4 separate regions of the Homo sapiens genome follow, and all the other regions are linked to region 1. Evidence: promoter capture Hi-C in 16 types of primary human blood cells and fetal thymus (Javierre and others, 2016). All regions are on one chromosome and are shown on one strand. Each heading gives the region's core, a stretch centred on a gene start or on the middle of the fragment in contact. The rest is flanking DNA. Distances are from core to core; before and after follow the strand shown. Region 1 holds the start of NRXN2-AS1 (NRXN2 antisense RNA 1). Region 2 has its middle 9.4 kb from the start of LINC02724. Region 3 has its middle 13 kb from the start of LINC02724. Region 4 holds the start of LOC124902690 (a long non-coding RNA gene).

Region 1 (3,468 bases), core at 358-2,857:
GGAAGTAGAAGGAGATAATGAACCAGACCTAGGGGTAAGCAGGTTTAGGTGAGGCCAGGAAGCAAAGTGCTGAAGACAGAGATGAGGGTGATGGGGGAGAGGAGAGATGGAGGCAAGGGTGGGGCTGAGATGATGGGAGCTGGAGATTGGAGGTGAAGGGGCTCCGGGACGCAAAGCAGAGGGGCCAGGCTCGGCGTGCACAGCTGGGGTGGGGCCCGCGGGGGCCCAGCTGCGCACACGGGAAGCGCCCCCCGCCCCCGGGCCAACCGGGTGGCCGGCATCTACAGTGCCACTTACCGTGGCCGCCGCGGGTGAGGAAGGGCATGCGGTTGATGGCGATGGGCACGGTGCCGTGCTTGCTGTGGAAGTGGTGGACGTGGTGGGTGGTGCTGAGGCTGGAGGAGACCCGGGCCCCCTCGGCCGCCCCCAGCAGCAACAGCAGCAACAGCGGCAACAGCGGCAGCAGAGGTGGCGGCGGCGGCGGTGGAGGCGGCGGCAGGGGCCCAGCCAGGGCCGGGGGGCGGCGCGGGCACCCCCCCGGCCCGCTCCCCCCGGGGGGCATTTCGGCCCGGGGGCGACCGCCTCACAGCCCCATGGCCGGGGGCGGGGACGCGGGGCTGCGCAGCCCCGCGAAGCCCCCCTCCGGCTCCGAGCTCCGGGAGCGGGGTAGGGATGAAGCGGAGGTAAACCAGGGCCCAAGCCTCGGTCCGGAGCCAACAAAATCAACTGGATCCCGCCGGGAAATCGGGGGTCCGCGGAGCGGCAACGCCAAGGTCCAGGATGCCTGGGTCCATCGCGAGGAGCTAGGGGTCTCTCTGCATCCCGGCGGGGTCGGAGCGGCGCAGAGGGCCGTCAGAAACCCGGGGGAGCGCCCGGGGGAGGGGGCATGGTGCCGAGTGGAGAGGGAGGGGAGCGCGGGGGCCAAGCAGGGAGGGGAGAGCGAGGGAAATCCTGCGGAAAAACCGAGCTGGGGAGCGGGGCGGTGCGGGCTGGAGGAGAGAAGAGGGACGGAGACCTGGTTCCCCCGAAGGCGGGAGACCGACGGCGACTGGGGCCGGCCGCGCCGCTGCTGCCGCTGCCGCCCGACGGAGGCCGGGGGAAAGGAGGGAGCGGCCGGGGGAGGGGGGGGCGGGAGAAGGGGGAAGGGAAGCAAATCCGGGTGAGGGGGGAATGAAGGGATAGGAGAGGAGGGGATAGGAGAGGAGGGGAGCGGGGCTGAGCCGAGGAAAGGCGCGAGCCTGCGAGATTCCGGCGGAGAGATGGAGGCAGCGAAGTGTTGCTGCAGAGGCTGAGAGGGCTGGAAGGGAGAGGGAGGGAGGGAGAGAGGGAGAGAGGGAGAGAGGGAGGGAGGGAGGGAAGGAGGAGAGCGGAGAGGGGAGGGGAAGCGCGGGAGGAGGAGGGGGCAGGGCGGAGGGACCAGAGCGGCTCCCGATCTGCGGGCGGCGCTGGGCAGCTCAGCCGCGCGGCACCTGGCTAGCCCGCTCGGCGCTCTCCTCTCCTCTGCGCGCGCCCGCCCCTCCCCCGCGCCTGGACGCGCGCGCTCCTCCTGCACCCCCCTCCTGGAGAAGGGACCCTGCTGAATAATGGAACGGGATTGAGGCTAGCAAGAGAGGCCACTTTCTTCCTCCCCGCCCACCCCACCCGGATGAACCCCAATAATGCTCTCTGGCACAGCCTGCTGAGATGCCGCGGCGGCCACCTCTGCACCACCCCTCGCAACGCACGTGCACACTGAGATGTGTATCGGCTTGGGTATGGAAACATCCACGTGCCCATATGGGCACAGTGTGCGGGTAGGCACACAGGCTCAGACACATACATGCATGCATGTGCTCACAGACACTGGCACACCAACTTACTCTCAGGGGAGCATATACACATGCTCACAGGGCATACATCCGTGCACACACACGTTTGATCACAGGACATGAATGGCCAACATACACACAGACACCCCTGCTCCCCAAGCTCACCCTCCAAAATAGGGTCCACAGCATACAGTGCACCCAGAGCCTTCGAGGTACTCAGGAATAAGACATGCCACACACGTACAACTCCCCACCACCTCCCCAAAAAGCTGCTCCCCCAGCCCCCTGCACAAGCCTCTCCTGGACTCCTCCAATCCTTCCTCTCCACTACCACTGCCCCTCCCCCAGCCCCAACCTCTCCCTCCATGGGGGGTCTAGAGGACACCTGCCCACTGAGTGTCCCATTTAGGACAAAACCCTTCCTGGGCCACGTATGTCAAGCTGAGGAAACCACTTCTCCTTCAGGATGCCCTCCAATTGGGTTCTGTCCCCCAAACTTTTGGACGCTCTGGAAAGCACCTGTGGCCCCAGAGGTAAGCACAGAGAGACTCCTTTCCCGTCACCGGGTCGTATGCACCAACCTGCTCGGACAGGGGAGAGGGTGGGAAGGCAGAGGGTAGAGGAGGAGGGAAAGGAGGAGAGAGGTGGAGAGGGCACCTGGGGGAGCTGAAGAAACAGTGCAGCGGAGTGAGGAGGAGGGCTGGGTAAGGAAAGGACAGGAGGCAGGGGCGGGTGAAGTGAGAAAGGGGAGGGCTGGGAGAGAGGAGGCTGGGAGGGGCTGGAGAGAGCTGGCTCCTATTTATTGATTCTAAACTCCATTTGGGAGCAAAAACTGTCACCACGAGCCCCATGTGCCACCCCCAGCTCCAGGATGCAGTCAGGACCCAGGACATCTCCCCAATGCTGCTGCCAGTCCTCCATCCCTACTACATGCCAGAGCTGGATTTGGCCCCCAGGTCTTTAGAAGTGAAGAAAGCGGTCCTCAGAGGCACCCAGAGGAGGCTTCCGGTGGTGCAGGGCCCCGAGCCATGCAGTGCTGGAGGAGAGACTGCATGCCAGGAGCAGGGCTGGGGCCCCCAGAGGCCACGTCCTCCTGCCCTCTCTATCACGTTCTTGGGCCCCTGGATCTGGAATATAGACTGACACAGCTCTGAGCAGGCAGAAAATTTATGGTTCCACAGGGAGGGAGGGAGGAGCCGGTGGCGAGAGGAAAGGAAGGGAAACCGCCTAGAGGCCAATCAATACCAGTGAGTGGGAACTGGAGAGAGATGGGGGGGCCAAGGCTGAGAAGGGAGGGGGAGATATAGAGGGTAAAAAAGAAGGGAAAGACAGAGGTATGTAAGAGATCAATAGAGACTGCAGAGATGAACGGAGACAGGGAGGCAGAGATGGTAAGGAATTGACCGCCTGGGAGAGGCAGGAGACAGGCTCTGAAAGACAGAGGAGTAAGCAGGCCTGATGGGAACACCTCGGTCCCAAATCTCAGCCCTGGGAAGTGTCTCTTTTAGCTACCCTTTCTCATTTCATATTCTCTTTTTCATTTGCTGTCCACTTTCCTCCATCTCATCTTTTCTCTCCTGTCTTCCCAGAGCAGACACTCATAAGCCTTAAAGGAACACAAAGTCCCCTCCACCCCCAGGAGTAGTCCCCATGTCACAGA
Region 2 (3,468 bases), core at 387-2,886, 200 kb before region 1:
AAGAGAGGAAAGAGAGGAGAGAGGAGACAGCGAGAGGCGGGAGGCCAGGGACACCCACAGGCTATGAAGGGGCAATTTCTCAACATGGGAGTTCCTTTGTGGTTTTCTTTTTTTCTTTTTTCTTTCTTTCTTTTTTTTTTTCTTTGAGACGGAGCCTCGCTCTCTTGCCCAGGCTGGAGTGCAGTGGTGCGATCTCGGCTCACTGCAACCTCTGCCTCCTGGGTTCAAGCAATTCTCCTGCCTCACTCTCCCGAGTAGCTGGGATTACAGGTGCCCGCCACCACACCCGGCTAATTTTTGTATTTTTAGTAGAGATGGGGTTCACCATGTTGGCCAGGCTGGTCTAGAACTCCTGGCCTCAAGTGATCTGCCTGCCTGGGCCTCCCAAAGTGCTGGGATTACAGTCATGAGCCACCACACCCAGCCTCTTCTTTTTTTTTTTTTTTTTTTTTTTGAGAGGGAGTCTCACTGTGTCACCCAGGCTGGAGTGCAGTGGTGTGATCTAGGCTCACTGCAACCTCTGCCTCCTGGGTTCAAGCAATTCTCTTGCCTCAGTCTCCCAAGTAGCTGGGACTATAGGCACGTGCCACCATGCCCAGCTAATTTTTGTATTTTTAGTAGAGACGGGGTTTCACCATGTTGGCCAGGCTGGTCTGGAACTCCTGGCCTCAAGTGATCCACCCTTTCGGCCTCCCAAAGTGCTGGGATTACAGGCGTGAGCCACCATGCCCCCGGCCACCTTTGTTGTTTTCTGAGGATATTTTAACAACTTCTGGAACACAAATCTGGCTCTGCACAGTAGCTGGATTGGGCAATATGAGTCCACTGATGTCCCCGCTGCCCCAGGGACTCTGGTATCTGGGGCAGAGGTGGGACTGGATGGGTCTGAGCAGGATTTTGGCCAATTCCCCTGGGACTTTCCCAGAAAAGAACTGATGGACCCAGGTAGCCAGGGGCGACCATTCCACAGCTAGAGAAACCAAAGCGCTTTGAATTTTTTTTTCCTTGGGACATCTCCCAACCCTATTCATAAGCTTTGGTCTCTTTTGTACAGAAGAATGTGGAGTGAAGCAGAATACAGTGACCTAGGGGAAAAAAGAGGAAACAGTACAATTTTAGCCCAATTTTTCTGGAGAGAATGGAGACCATGCTTTTGGTATTGTCTGGGAGGGCGCACACCATCAGCGGCCTTGGACCAGGCTGGGAAACGTGTCCAATCAGCGGAGCCCTCAGGGGCTTGTACTAGTCTTTGAAGAAAGCCCTTTGGAGCCAGCTTCTCGCCCGGTTGTGCTGGGGAAGCAGAATTCTCAAAGGTCACGTCGCCCTCTCGCTGCCCAGCGCTGGGGGGAGGCTCCTCTTCTGCTCCCTCGGCAGCATCTGGAAACGGCCTCTTCATGGCCTCTGAGACGTTTTCTCTCTCTCCTGGGGGCTGGGGCTCACTTCCTCCCCTTGATGTCTCCCCGTAGGTTCTGTCCTTGGCTCTTTTGCCTCCAGGGGCTTCCTCGGCAATTTCACCTGTTCCATGGTTTCAGTGATCCTGTCTCTCTGGAATGTGGGTGGACAGCCTTGGGAAGCTGTGAATTCTCCAGCACCAAAACCGTCCTCCCTGAAAGGGACAGACAGCCACTCCCCGCAGAGCTGGGGAGACTCGGGGACCCTGAAGAGCAGGGGTCTCAAACTGCAGTGCTGGAAAGGGCCAGGCAGGTGTGCAGAGGAGAGGCCTGGGCCAGGAGGGAGGGGCAGGGTGCAGTCAGCTGGACGGAGAGTGCCTGGGTACTGGGCGAGGACGGCTGAGCTCCAGCTGCCGTGTAGGGATAAGGAGCCTCAGTGGGGCCAGTGCAGTGGCACTTAACCACAGGGATGCTGATGCAAATAAGCACGAGCCTCTTACACAGCACCTGACATGCAACAGGAGGCCTCCTGTTTTAAATTTTAAAAAAATTTTTCGAGATGGGGTCTTGCTCTGTTGCCCAGGCTGGAGTGCAATGGTGCAATCTCGGCTCACTGTAGCCTCGAGCTCCTGGGCTCAAGCGATCCTCCCATCTCAGCCTCCTGAGTAGCTGGGACTATAGGCATGCACCACCATGCCTGGCTAATTTTTAGTATTTTTTTTTTTGTAAAGTTGGGGTCTCACTATGTTGCCCAGGCTGGTCTTGAACTCCTGGGCTCAAGTGATCTGCCTGCCTTGGCTTCCCAAAGTGTTGGGATTACAGGCGTGAGCCACTGTGTGTGGCTCAGGAAGCTTCTTGATTCTTCCACATTGATCTCCCCCTCCTCTGAATGGTTGTCATGGTGTTGTGCCCCTCATGTGGTCCTGATCACACATTTCTCAGGTGATGGGATGTATCAGTTAGCTACTGGACAATAGTGTCATGTAACAAATGGTCCCCAAACTCAGTGGCTTAGAACAATGGTGATTTGTTCTCATGATTTTGTGGATTGGTTGGAGCTTGGCTGGTGCGGGCTTCTGGCTGGGGCAGCTCAGGCAGCTCCACTTTTCCCTGCTGGTCTGTGGCTCAGTGGGGCAGTGCAGCTCCACGAGTCTCTCATCCTCCTTGCATGAGTGGCTCAGCTGGGACATGCTTCTTTCAGAGCAGAACATACAAGGCTTCTTGGCACCTGGCAGGTGGTCACTTTTGCTTATGTGCCATTGGCCAAAGCAAATCCCATGGACAACCTCAAAGTCAAGGAGCAGGGAAGTACCCATTGCCCATGACAAGGCCACAGCAAGGGTGTGGACGCCGTAGGAGGTGGTGAGTTAGGACTTCAGCCCCGCCCCGCCGAGCCCACAGGGACGGAAACAGTTTTAGGTGAGTGCCTTTTTGCAGTGGCTGACTCATGGGGACAGGACCCTTCCTGAATGGCCTGGGACCCTGTTGAGAGCCATCTCTGGGGGAGAGGTTCCAGCAGCCCAAGTGACATATTAGCAAGAATTCGAGCCAGCATTTCTGTGCATAGGGGTAGGGAGTGGGGAGAAGGGCCTAGCAGGGCAGTGTGGTGCATGCAGTAGGTGCTTACTCAGTGTTCGATGGAGGAATGTAGACTGTCTTCTATCCAGGAGTGAGGGAAGCAGATTTTCTCTGGGTTGAGGCAGGGAGGAGGCTGGGGGTGGAGGCCTGGGGGGCTTTGATGTCCCTTTCTTGCCCCCAGGAAGCACTGCTGACTCCCACAGAGAGCAGAAAAAGAGCAGGTTAACAAAAGGAGTTTATATTCGGTCTTGAAATGTATTCCTTCGGGGGTTTCTTTTTTTCCCCAGCAAGTCAGTTCCTTTTCAGTATTTCCTTTCATTTTGTTTTAGATTTATCTTTCTATAAATAGCATGACTGGAATGAAACGTTTATTGAGGTACAACAGTGTGCAAAATGCATTGCTCTTAATAGGACAACTTGATTGCGGGTGACCACACCCATGCCCATGCAGCCAACACCCGCATCAAGGCCTAGGACGTGCCTCATCCCCGGGGAGGCC
Region 3 (3,468 bases), core at 584-3,083, 180 kb before region 1:
CAGATAAAACATGATTATCTCATTGTTTTAATTTGCTTTTCCTTAAACATCATGGAGACAGAACCTGTATTTTTTGTTTCTTGGTCATTTATGTATTTCTATTTTGGGGATTTTCTATTTCTGTCCTTTGTCCATTTTCCCATTTTCGTCTTATTTTCATTCTCCCTAGGATGTTCCTACATTTTCTGGTCACGATCTTTTGCTACAGATATCTATTCTGAATCGGTGGTTTGTTGTTTTCACTTTGTTTATGGTGTCTTGTGTTGAACAGAAACACCCCATTCTAACATAGTCACATTTATCAATCTTTTCTTTTATGATGTGCTTTTCACATCGCATTTAAGAAATCCTTCCCCTGTGCAGAGATCAAAATTAGGTTTCTCTTGTACTTTCTACTTATAAATGTTTTACAATTTTGCTTTTCATCTTTGGAAACTTTATGGACCTTGGTTTTGGCCCAGTGTTATCTATGGTGGGTTTCCCCAGGGGTTGATCCTGAGACAAGGATTTGGGTGGAAGAGGGGAAGGCAAGTCCTAGGAAGGGTGCACTGATGAGCAGGTGCCACTGGGAATGGTGGGGAGGTGGTGTAAGACATACCCCACAACTGTCCCTCTGGAGGGGCCAGGAAGCTGTGGTATTATCCTTCAGCCTCTGCCCATTACCACCAGCACTACCAGACCCTACTCCTGGGACGATGACTCCCTGGTTCTTCCAGCTACTGTTCTTGCAAGGTCAGTGGAAGCCCTGGGGTCTCAGAGGGCCATGGGTGTTCACAGGGGACACCTTTATATGCACTGGGTCAGGGGATTGAAGGGAGAGTGGCCTAGGCACCCCGGTGTCTGCTATAGTGTGAGGCTGGAACCTACATTAATTTCGTTCCAAATGGACAACCAATGGACCAAACAGGATTTTTTTTATCCATCCACTTTCTTACTGATTTTATTAAATCAGATTTCTGGGGTTCAGTATTCTGGGTGTATCTGTCTATCCTGTGTTGCTATCACATTGTTTAAATGATCACAGCTTTATAAGTCTTGATACCTGGTAGGGGAAATCCCTCCTCATACCTTGACTTGTTGCTCTTGTTTGAAATTGTTTTGGCTATTCTTGGCCCTTTATTTTGCATTTGCATTTTAGGATTATATTATCGAGTTCCCTGAAAAGCCCCATTCAGAATTTGATTGGCCTTGTGTTAACTTTATAGATTAATCTAGGAAGCATCGTTTTGTTTATGGTGTTGAGTCTTTCTATCCATGAACACGCTATAGATCTTTATTTATTCATGACTTCTGTGTTCTGCAGCAATATTTTATGCTTTCCTCCATAAAGATCCTACACATCACTCCCTCTCTTGAAATCTCAGTTCCCATTGTTTTTGCTGCTATTGTAAGTGATGCCTTCTTATAACATGTTTTCTAGTCAATTATTGCTGGGCATAGAAGTATTCTTGATCTTTTATAATGTACATTAATCTTATATCCAGCAACCCTGCCAAACCTTTATCACTTTTCAGAGTTTGTGGAAGCTCTTGGATTTTCTATGTCAACAATCATATTATTATCAGCAAAGAATCACAATATGTTGCTTTTTTCTTTCCTATTGATGCAGGACAGGTGAGCCCCAAACTGGGGCTTAGCCCATAAGGGTTCTTGGCTTTGCCCAGGAAAGAATTCAAAGGTGAGCCAGTGGTAGGTTGGAAGAAAACAGCTTTATTGAAACAGCAGTGTTAGAGCTCTGGTGGAGTTTCAGTTCTGTGACTGCTCCTGCTAAGCAGGGCTACCCCATAGGCAGTGTGCTAAGAGTAGCAGCTCAGGGCAGGGCAGGGCAGGGCAGGGCAGGACTGGAGTCATATTCATGCCTGCTTTTTTTTTTTTTTTGAGACCGAGTCTCACTCTGTTGCCCAGGCTGAAGTGCAGCGGTGCCATCTCAGCTCACTGCAACCTCCACCTCCTTGGTTCAAGTGATTCTCCTACCTCAGCCTCCCAGATAGCTGGGACTACACACCTGGCTAATTTTTGTAGTTTCAGTAGAGACAGGGTTTCACCATGTTGGCCAGGCTGGTCTCGAACCCCTGACCTCAGGTGATCCACCCGCCTTGGCCTCCCAAAGTGCTGGGATTACAGGCATGAGCCACCATGCCAGGCCCTTACCTACTTTTAATTGCATGCAGATTAAGGGGCAGTTTATGCAGAAATTTCTAGGGAAAGGATAGTAACTTTTGGGTTGTCAGGTCATTGCCATGGAAAAGAGCGGTGATGCCCAGGTGTCACCATGGCAACAGTAAGCTGACACGGACACTGGTGGGAGTGTCTGCTGGAAAGCTGCTTCTGCCAGGTCTCTGTTTTAACCAGTCCTCAGTTTGGCCTGATGTCCGATCCCTGCCTCTGGAGTGGAGTTCTGCCTCCTACCTCACTATTATTACACTGTTCCTTTTTCTTGTCTTACTGAATTGGCTAGGACCTCCAGTACAATGTTGAATACAGGAGTGGTTGCTGGCACCCTTATTTTATTCCTGAATTTTCATGGTAATGCTTCTAATGTTTTAACATGAATAATCTTATCTGCTATGAGTTTCTGATAGATGTCTTTGATCAAACTAAGGGAAATCCTTTCTATTTTTAGTTTGTATCATGTATAGGAGTTGAATTTTATTTTATTTATTTATTTATTTTGAGACAGGGCCTCAGTCTGTCACCTAGGCTGGAATGCAGTGGCACAATCTTGGCTCACTGAAGCCTCCTCCTAGGCTCAAGGGATCCTCCCACCTCAGCCTCCTGAATAGCTGGGACTATAGGCGCACACACTACGCCCAGCTTATTTTTTGTATTTTTGGTAGAGATGGGGTTTCGCCATGTTGCCCAGGCTAGTCTCGAACTCCTGACCTCAAGTGATCCTCCCACCTTGGCCTTCCAAAGTGCTGTGATTACAGGCATAAGCCACTGCATCCAGCCTGAATTTTATTACATGGTTCTCTGCATCTATTGAGATGGTGATGTTTTCTCTTCTTAATCTGTTAATGTGGCAAATTCTATGTAACATATTTTTCTAAAATTGACCATTGCGTGCCTAGGATAATGCCAATTTGGTTATGATGTATATATGTTTAAAATGCACTGCTTAATTTGTTTTGCTTGTATTTATTTAGGATTTTTATATCTCTGTTTAAAAGGGGGATTGGCTTATAATTTTCTTTTTCATGCCATCTATGTCCAACTGACATATTAGTGATGCCATCTTCCTAAAATAAGTAGGGTCTGTCTTTTATATTATTTGAAAACTTTGCTTACAATTTCATTCAAGGTTTAATATTTATTAGCATAAAGTTGTTCATCATCTTCTCTAATGATTTTTAACATTCCTGTGGTATGACTAGTTAGGATCTCTTCCGAGGAACATTGTTTTTGTTCATGCCTTCATCCTTTGAGGTGATTGGACTTGCTAGAAGTTTGTTCATTTTGTTGTTCTTT
Region 4 (3,468 bases), core at 300-2,799, 140 kb before region 1:
ACTGCCTGCTGGCCTCACCACCCCTGTGGGCCACAGCCTTGGAAAGAACAGTCCTCATTGGCTTTTTCTTCAAACACGACCCTGGGGATGGCTTTAGTAGCTCCTGGAATGGGGAATCTTAGCCCCGTCTATGGTCAGGTGTCTCCCCAGCTCGCTGAAGAAGAATGTGAAGGGAGAAAGGCTGAGAAGGGCCCCATTAAAGGCGGAAGAATCGCTTCCTCACCTTTCCCCAGTGAGAGAAGATGCGCTTTATTTGTTCATAAAACACACCCATAGCAAAGGCCTGGCACGGTGCACAGTGTGGGGAGCAGAGGATGGGGTCCTGCCCTCCTAGAGTGTACAGCCTGGGTGTGTGGGGGAGAGAGATAATAAACAAGGAAATAAACGGTTACGAGTGTCCCAACAGTCACAGGAAAGAACAAGTGCTGTGTGTGGAAGAATAAACCAGAAGGACGCCACAAAGGAAGGACGGTTGGGGTGGGGGCGGCCACAAGAAGCTCCCACTCTGTCTTCAGAGCTTTGGGTGGGGGGGCGGGTGCCCAAGCTATACTCACCCCTGAGGCTGTTGGTCTCTGGCCAACTTTAACAATGATTCAGGTCTCACTGGACGCACAAGGTATACGTCCTTTCAGAAAGAATGCAGAGCAATGGAAGAGTGGGTGGATTCTTTAACAAAGAAATTGCAAAATTCCAGCAAAATACAACATTTTGGAAGGAAAATCCCTTAGAGGCTCCCCTTTGGTGGCATAGCATCATGGAAATGAACCAAAGAAGAAATGAAACATTTAAAGAACATCCTAAGTTTTAAATTAGACCCAAATGCTGCGACCTCATCAAATAAACACCCAATCCACCAAATTCTAGCCCCACCAGGAGGAGTTAAGGAAGGAGCACGCTCTCAAAATGGCACCCGGGGCCAGCCCTGTGATGGGCGGACTCGGGTCACGTGACCCCAACTGCGTCTTCAAGACTGATCTCTTGTGAGGCTCTTAAAGCGGCGCTCCCCAACATTTCTAGCACCAGGGACTGGTTTGGAGGAAGGCAAATTTTCCAGATGGTGGGGGATGGGGGTGGGGGTGGTTTCAGGATGATTCAAGGGCATTTCATTTATTGTGCACTTTATTTCTATTATTATTACGTTGTAATATATAAGGAAGTAATTATACCCCTCACCATAATGTAGAATCAGTAGGAGCCCTGACCTTGTTTTCCTGCAATGCGACGGCGGCGACAGATCATCAGGCATCAGGTTCTCATAAAGAGCGCACAGCCTAGATCCCTTGCATGCGGGGTTCACAGCAGAGTTCGTGCTCCTGTGAGAATCTAACGCCGGCACTAATCTGACCTGAGTGGCGCTCTGGTGGTCACGTGAGCAACGGGGAAGCGGCCGTAAGAACAGATGAAGCTTCACTAGCTCCCCAGCCGCTCGTCTCCTGCTGTGTGGCCTGGTACCAGTCTGTGGCCCAGGGGCTGGGGACCCTTGCCCTAAAGGCTCCCGGGGCCGGCTGGGCCTGCTTGTGGGTAAGGGAGAGAGGACAGAAGCCTGTGCTGCTCAGGAGCCCCCACCACATAATGCCCTGTGTCCCAGATCCTAAATTCCTGAAAAGGCTAAAGTGAAGGACGATATTAGAGGATATTGAAAGTTTTGTTCCACAACTCCAAAACTTCTTTTATTGCAAAAAGATTTCCGTACCAAGCTTTGACATATATATATATAAATTTTTTTTCTTTTTTGAAACAGGGTCTTACTCTGTCACCCAGGCTGGAGTACCGGGGCAAAATCTTGGTTCACTGCAGCCTCAAACTCCCAGGCTCAAGCCATCCTCCCACCTCAGCCTCACAAATAGCTGGGACCACAGACATGCTCCACTATGACTGGCTAATTTTTAAACTTTTTTGTAGAGACAGGGGTCTCCCTCTGTTGCCCAGGCTGGTCTTGAACTCCTGACCTCAAGCGATCCTCTCGCTTCAGCCTCTGAAAGTATTGGGATTATAGGAGTGAGCCACCTTGCCCAGCTTAAAAATGCCTATTAAAGAAAATTTGGAAAACATATAAAAAGGGAAAAAGTCAATTCTATCTTTGTTTCCGTTTTGCTATCTGTCCAGTGCACTGGGGTGTGGAATGCTAACCTCGTCTCCTCCTACTACCCATGACTCTGCCACCTCCCATCTGTCCTCCTGCTTTTCATCGACCACACCTCCCACCTTGCGACCTTTGCACTGGCTCTTTCCTCTGCTGGAATGCATATTCCCAGAATCTGTATGGCTGACTCCCTCACCACTGAGTCTTTACTCATACACGACCTTCTTGACGACACTGACCTTGACCGCCCCACTTGTAATTGCACTTCCGACCACTCCTGATCCCCCTCCCGGTTACTCTGCTTAGTCTTATTCCTATAGCATTTACCACCTTCCTGCAAGCTAGGTAATTTACTTCTGGATTATGGTTATTTTCTATTCCTGTCTCCCCGATTGGACTGTGTCTATGTCTGTGTCTATGTCTACGTCAGCTGCACGGGCATAGAGATTTTTACCATTTTCTTCACAGGCATATCCCAAGCACCTGGAACAGTGCCTGTCATATACCAGGTGCTCAGTACATTTTTACTTGATGAATTAAATTAATGAAGCCTGGCTGATATTTATTGAGTACTTACTCTGCGCCAGACATTGTTTCAAGTACTTTACATTTTTCCAACAACCCTTGGAGAAAGTTTTAATAAACCCATTTTACAAATGAGGAACCCTAGGCACAGAAAGGCTAAGCAACTCGCCTAAGATCACACAGCCAGTAAATGTCAGTGCCAGGATTTGAACCCAGGCAGTCTGACACCAGAGCTCATAGTCTCAATTGCAGTGAACACCACAGAGCCAGGCATGTTTTAGTGGTCACTACATTTTAGTTGAATAAATGAATAAATAACTAAAAACCAAATATATCAAATAACATTCTAATTTCTCTGCCTAGAGATCAATACTGGCCAACACATGATGGGACATTTTTCTTGACCCTCTCCAATGTGAATTACTTCCTTTTATATGGAAGATTGTGAGCCCTTTGAAGACCTGATGGAAGCTATTGGACAGTAGAAGACACAGAGTGTACATGCAGGTGAAATGTTGCATGCAATTTTCAGGGGCTTAATGGACCTTCCCCATCACATTACAGTTCTCCAGAGAAACAGAACCAACATGGGAGATCTGTGTGTATGTCTATGTCTGTGTCTGCGTCTCCATCTCTGTCTATGTCTGCCTCTGCGCCTGCACCTGCGTCTGCATGTGCGTTTGTGTCTGTCTGCGTCTGCGTCCGCGTCTGGATCTGGGTCTGTGTCTGTGTCTGTGTCTGTGTCTGCGTCTGCGTCTGTCTGCGTCTGCGTCTGTCTGCGTCTGCATCTGCGTCTGCATCTAGGTCTGGGTCTGTGTCTGTGTCTGTCTGTGTCTGTGTCTGCGTCTGTATCTGTCTGC

Evidence for each region. The method cuts DNA at HindIII sites, captures the fragments that hold promoters and counts their contacts. A CHiCAGO score of 5 or more calls a contact.
Region 2: a contact is called between a fragment that was not itself captured here and the fragment with the promoter of NRXN2-AS1 in region 1, in 1 of 17 cell types (M1 macrophages). The highest score is 5.2, in M1 macrophages.
Region 3: a contact is called between a fragment that was not itself captured here and the fragment with the promoter of NRXN2-AS1 in region 1, in 2 of 17 cell types (megakaryocytes and M2 macrophages). The highest score is 5.7, in megakaryocytes.
Region 4: a contact is called between a fragment that was not itself captured here and the fragment with the promoter of NRXN2-AS1 in region 1, in 5 of 17 cell types (M1 macrophages, megakaryocytes, M0 macrophages and 2 more). The highest score is 8.6, in M1 macrophages.

Annotation. Positions count from the first base shown.
Region 1 is chr11:64,642,242-64,645,709 of GRCh38, forward strand. NRXN2-AS1 (NRXN2 antisense RNA 1) reads left to right here and starts at 1,608. Exons shown (of 3, transcript XR_001748259.3): 1 at 1,608-2,341; 2 at 3,398-3,468. The region is part of intron 17 of NRXN2 (neurexin 2); the gene reads right to left. The HindIII fragment of the contact is 13,173 bases long and covers 1-3,468 here.
Region 2 is chr11:64,437,897-64,441,364 of GRCh38, forward strand. No RefSeq gene overlaps it. Among named protein-coding and RNA genes, the nearest start is that of LINC02724, 9.4 kb to the right of the region's middle. RefSeq lists enhancers at 1,581-2,112, 2,645-3,175. The HindIII fragment of the contact is 1,208 bases long and covers 1,033-2,240 here.
Region 3 is chr11:64,460,538-64,464,005 of GRCh38, forward strand. No RefSeq gene overlaps it. Among named protein-coding and RNA genes, the nearest start is that of LINC02724, 13 kb to the left of the region's middle. The HindIII fragment of the contact is 6,738 bases long and covers 1-3,468 here.
Region 4 is chr11:64,499,467-64,502,934 of GRCh38, forward strand. LOC124902690 (a long non-coding RNA gene) reads right to left here and starts at 1,428. Exons shown (of 2, transcript XR_007062721.1): 1 at 555-1,428. The HindIII fragment of the contact is 292 bases long and covers 1,404-1,695 here.